2 separate regions of the Homo sapiens genome follow, and region 1 is linked to region 2. Evidence: promoter capture Hi-C in 16 types of primary human blood cells and fetal thymus (Javierre and others, 2016). All regions are on one chromosome and are shown on one strand. Each heading gives the region's core, a stretch centred on a gene start or on the middle of the fragment in contact. The rest is flanking DNA. Distances are from core to core; before and after follow the strand shown.

Region 1 (2,700 bases), core at 90-2,589, 570 kb before region 2:
GTTGAGATTTGGGTGGGGACACAGCCAAACCATATCAGCACCCCAAAACAATTACCATAGTAACATCAAAGATCATTGATCACAAAGCACTATACCAGATATAATAATGATGAACAAATTTAAATATTGCAAAAATTATTGAATATTATGTGACACAGAGACACAAAGTGAGCACATGCTGTTGGAAAAATGGCACCAATAGATGTGCTTGAGGCAAGGTTGCCACAAACCTTCAATTTGTAAAAAAAAAAAACAAAAAAACAAAAGCAATGTCTGTGAAGAGCAATAAAGCAAATCACAATAAAACGAGGCATGCTGTTATCATCATCTAACAGGCACATTTTGGTTTCAAAAAAAACTGGGCATGTATTAAGATCTAATATGTATTTTACCATCCAGGAATTTTCTCAAGACTGTATTGCAGAAAATTTTAAAACCAGTTATTCTACTCTAATACAGTTACTTATTTTTCTTCAATATCACTTTTTTTCTAAGTATGTCTCTCTTGGACATGGTTTTAATCATTTGCAATATAAAGAGACATAGGCTTAATTTATAGCAGCCCTGAGTTAACAAAAAGAGATAATCCTATTCGCTTATTTGATAATCCAGCTGAACCTGAAGTACTGATTTCAGCCTGTTCATCACCTGAATGGGCTGCCGTGGTTAGAGGGTTTCCAACACAGCTACTGGAACACTTTTAAAAGGTAATGCTGTGATCCATGCAGCCAGGAAGGGGTTGGTCCCTCATAACTCTGCAATCCTCTGGGCCCAGTTTTCTTTTTCCTCTCCCGGTTGATGACACTAGGCCCATTGGTGGTACGGCTTTGGGTTTCCTTCAGTCTCAAGATCTCAGTCAGGGTGGGTGAAGTGGAAGAACAAGCCTTCTTGCAGACCACTGGTTGGTTGGCAGCCTTTGCCATAGCTAATCTGGTTGTTTTCAGGTCAGTGACAGTCACTTTTAGGAGAGGGTTCGTTTGCTTTCAAAATCCATCTCCCCGTTCCTCTCAGGGTTCTTTGCCCCAAAGGACTTTGCCCTTCCTTACGCAGTGGACACCTTGGCACCCTCTGCAAACAGACAGTCCCGCAGAGGCCCTCGACGAGTGTCACTCCATCTGTTTCGCGCTCCTAGGAGAGGTGTAGCAGAAAGCAGTGCCCCAGGCCTCCACGCGACGGTGAAGCAGGAACCAGGGGCTGCCAGCAGAGCAGCCCAGGTGCGTCGCCTTAGGGACAGAGCTGCCAAGTGCCGAGCTGGGGCTGCCAGAGCCGAGCCGGGAACGGCATTTGCCAGAGCCGAGGCGGAAGCCGGAGCATTTGGGGGACGGGACCGCGGGAACCCGGAAACGCCTGGGCTGCACCGAGCTGGCGGTGGCTACGGCGACGGGAGCCGGCGGCGCTGCGGGTCAGCGGTCGCGTAGGACCCAGCGGACTCGGCAGCCTGGGGCGCCCGGCGGAGCTGAACCGCGGCCCCCGGTGGTGGGCTCAGCCGGTCGAGCTGCGCGGGAGGTGAGTCCTCAGCGCACCTGGGGAGGGGCGGGAACCAGGAGGCTAGCGGCTGCGGGGCGGCCCGGGAAGCTCCTGGAGGAGGAGGAAGAGGAGGCATGCGAGGGGGCTGATGTGAAGTCTGTAGGGGTGAAGGGGACGGTATCGAAGACCTGAAATACAGTGCTAGCTAAGTAGGGGTGGGAGCAGATGAGGTGACACGTTGTAACTCCGACGGACGACGTGCGGAATGTACTGGGTGGAGGAGGAAAAAAGGCCCGAGGAGAGGGGTGTGTCAAGCGAATGAAGACGGCAGTGTGTGCCTCAGCGCCTGGTGCGTGCGGAGCTAGTGACGGGTGGGCCCGGCTGGGGCCCGTCATTCCTTCAGTGAACATCCCATGAGCTCTCGCTCGGTGTTGAGCCCTGTGGTAGGCACAGATGCACCCGACCAGCACCTGGAGCTCAAGAAGCCGCAGGAACTTAAAGAAATGGAAAGGCTGCCCTTGGTAAGGCTAGTAAGAACACAAGGACTGTTTGAAGTGGGGTGAGATTCTCATCAGAACAGGTGTGTGGGTGCATTGCTTTATAGTAAAAGACGATCTTTTATTATGTTCTCTTAAATGCAGTATTTGAAAATTAAGTCTTTTCGTTTTTGAAATCAACATTCGACTTTAGTAGTTAAAGATGAAATTTGGTGCAGTTTCTTACTTGGTGTTCTTATTCACTTTCACTGGTAAACTCAGGGTGTTTCAAGGGAATGACTTGTAAACTTATATTTCTGAGGCTAACTTTCCTCCCAACTGTTGATTCTATCTCTTCAGCATCTCAAATTTAGTTCTCCCCTTTTTCATTCCCACTACCTGTCTGCTAAATATGCTCGTCTTTCCTCTTCTTACTTGCACTATAGCAATAACTTCCAAACTGGACTTGTCCTCAGCCTGGCACCCTTCCAGTCACTTGCCTCCATATTACTTTTAAAGCCAAAGATCTTATGACTTTCTTTTTTTGGTTATTCCTTCCTCAGAAATACGCAGTGACTCTCGATCGGCTTCAGAATAAAATGTAAATTATTTAGGGAGGCATTTAATAAATTTTATATTATTTAGGGAGGCTTCAGATTTTTCCTTCAGAATTTGAGTCTGACGGTGGCTCCAGTAAAATCAATATGATTCTTTTTTTTTTTTTTTAGACGGAGTCTCGCTCTGTCGCCCAGGCTGG
Region 2 (2,762 bases), core at 184-2,683:
CCATCGCAAGGCTACATGATGGATGCTCGGCTTAGTATCTGGGTGTGCTGCAACCCCACCTAACATTTTTTTCTATTATGCCATGTTACCATATTCCCATATTGAGTTACATTTTCAAATACATGACTTTTCCAGTGAATAATTGAGAGAACTCCTTTTCTGAAAAAATTCCCACATGGAATGGATAAATGAACACTTGCACCAAAGAAGATGCCAACATCAGACTGCAAATCTCCAAGACAGACAAGACAAAAAGTTCTGAAGTGAAAAGTCATCTTTGTTCACACTGTGGATTATTCAGGTTTCTTGCTTTCCCCCTGACACACATTTTTTTAAAATTGACTTTATTTTTTTAGAGCAATTTTAGATTCATGGCAAATTTGAGTGAAAGATACAGAGATTTCCCATGTACTCCCTGCCCCTCGCATACATAGCCTCTCCCATTATCAAAATCCCCCACCAGAGTGGTTCGTCTGTTACAATTGAATGTACGTTGACACATCATTCCCCAAAGTCCATGGCTTACACTGATGTTTCACATTCTGCCACTTTGGGCAAATTTATAAGTACACAGATCCACTATTATGGTATCATACAGAGTAGTTCCACTGTCCTAAGAATCTTCCGTGATCATCTATTCATTCCTCCTTTCCCCCTAACTCGGGCAACCACTGGTCTTTTTAACTGTCTCCATAGTTTTGCCTTCTCAAGAATGTCATAGTTGGTAGCATACAGTATGTAGTCCTTTCCAGTTGGCTTCTGTCACTTAGTGATACACACTTAAGGTTCCTTCATGTCTTTTCATGGCTGGACAGCTCATTTCTTTTTAGCACTGAATAATATTCCATTGTCTAGATGTACCACTGACATCTGCTTTAAATCTTTTGCCCATTTCATTTTTACCCTCTAACCATTTCATTACTAAAACACAAAACAAACTCCGGAAAGGAGTTTGTTGATGAGAAAACACTGAAAGTACGATTTAAATTGAGGAATGGAGATTTTCTGTGGATAATTGTCTATGTTCCACTTTACCAAAGAAAAATGAATTTCAAGTAGTGCATAAAGTAATTCTCGTTAAAAAATGTGGGAATAAAGAGATCAGTCCTGGGTACTGGGAATATATTTATCTCACAGAAAAATCTTGCCCACAAAATGCATCAGACTGAGATGAAATACTCTAGGGTATATTAAATTTTATTCTAATATTGAAGGGAGGGAAAAAAAGGACGGAAAGAAAAATGAAACAGGATGAAAAATAAGGTGATTGGGAGAGAGAAAAGACAGAGAAACTTGTTAACGACAGGACTTTCTGAGCAAGATATTTTTCTTCCTTTTACAAGTTGGAAGCTATTGAATAATTCATGCCAAGCGTGGAAAGGCTGTCTTTTCCCTGGATGATGTATAACTAAGCAGGAGAGAGCTTCGAGTGGGTTCACCACATCAGCCACCACTCCTGCTTCTGAGCACAGGGTGCTCTCCTCTTGAGCTCAGCTTCTGCTTTTGCAGCCAAGCATTCTTGCTGCTGCTGCCTGCCTGCCCACCCGCCTGGGCTTGCAGCCCGCCACTTTACTTTCTCCAGCCCTGATACCAGCTGAGAAGTCTCCCTGCAGCTGCTAGTTCCTGCCCAGGACCATGTGTGTGGATGCTGCTTGGGAGAAGCGGGCACTTGCTCCTGGCACTGATCCCAGCTGAGTTTCTCCTGTTGATTTCTGGACCACTGATGCTGTTGCTGAGGAGGTATTTCCCGGCATCCCTCCCCCTGAGACACCGGCTAAGGACCAGCCTAAACGCAAGGTAACCTTCACCTCTTTCCCATGGGATTTTCCCCAGCTGGGATATCTCTGCTTTCTCCTGGAACTAGGTCCTCCAGCTGGCAACATATCTCTCTCTCTCTCTCTCTCTCTCTCTCTCTCTCTCTCTCTGTGTGTGTGTGTGTGTGTTGGGGGAGAAGAGGAGACTGTTTTAGGTATTGCTCTGTCCTAGGGCTTCCCCGATACCTGCTGAATCCAATGCAAAGTGGCCTTTCCCCTGGCTCTGGAGACATTTCCGAGGCAGGCACCTGTCATCTGCCACCCCCGTCCTCCTCCTCGAGCTCCCTTTCTCCCCCTCCCCCAGCCCATTATTCTGCTTCAGCCTTTTGTGTCAGTGGCAGAGGGCTGAAGGGATGTCTTTGCCCTTCTGGCAGGCAGGACAGTGTCAGGATGGACCGCGCTGCCAGAAGCCGACGCTAGCGAGGGAGGTGTGAAGAGTTGGCCAGAATGACCAACTCCTCCTCCACATCCACCTCCTCCACCACCGGTGGCTCGCTGCTGCTGCTCTGCGAGGAAGAGGAGTCGTGGGCGGGCCGGCGCATCCCGGTGTCACTCCTGTATTCGGGCCTGGCCATCGGGGGCACGCTGGCCAACGGCATGGTCATCTATCTCGTGTCGTCCTTCCGAAAGCTGCAGACCACCAGCAACGCCTTCATCGTGAACGGCTGCGCCGCCGACCTCAGCGTCTGCGCCCTCTGGATGCCGCAGGAGGCGGTGCTCGGGCTCCTGCCCACCGGCTCTGCGGAGCCCCCCGCAGACTGGGACGGCGCTGGGGGCAGCTACCGCCTGCTACGGGGTGGGCTGCTGGGCCTCGGACTCACGGTGTCCCTCCTCTCCCACTGCCTCGTGGCCCTGAACCGCTACCTGCTCATCACCCGGGCGCCCGCCACCTACCAGGCGCTGTACCAGAGGCGCCACACGGCGGGCATGCTGGCGCTGTCCTGGGCG

The links. The method cuts DNA at HindIII sites, captures the fragments that hold promoters and counts their contacts. A CHiCAGO score of 5 or more calls a contact.
Region 1: a contact is called between the fragment with the promoter of SLC35A3 here and the fragment with the promoter of GPR88 in region 2, in 1 of 17 cell types (activated CD4 T cells). The highest score is 5.1, in activated CD4 T cells.

What each region holds. Positions count from the first base shown.
Region 1 is chr1:99,968,657-99,971,356 of GRCh38, forward strand. It overlaps SLC35A3 (solute carrier family 35 member A3), which reads left to right and starts at 1,340. Exons shown (of 8, transcript NM_012243.3): 1 at 1,340-1,506. All of the region lies in intron 1 of LOC124904230 (a long non-coding RNA gene), which reads right to left. RefSeq lists enhancers at 820-869, 930-979, 1,700-1,789 and a silencer at 1,380-1,579. The HindIII fragment of the contact is 6,900 bases long and covers 1-2,700 here.
Region 2 is chr1:100,536,706-100,539,467 of GRCh38, forward strand. GPR88 (G protein-coupled receptor 88) reads left to right here and starts at 1,434. Exons shown (of 2, transcript NM_022049.3): 1 at 1,434-1,797; 2 at 2,189-2,762. The coding sequence starts at 2,262. RefSeq lists enhancers at 1,858-2,707, 2,156-2,555, 2,708-2,762. The HindIII fragment of the contact is 8,214 bases long and covers 1-2,762 here.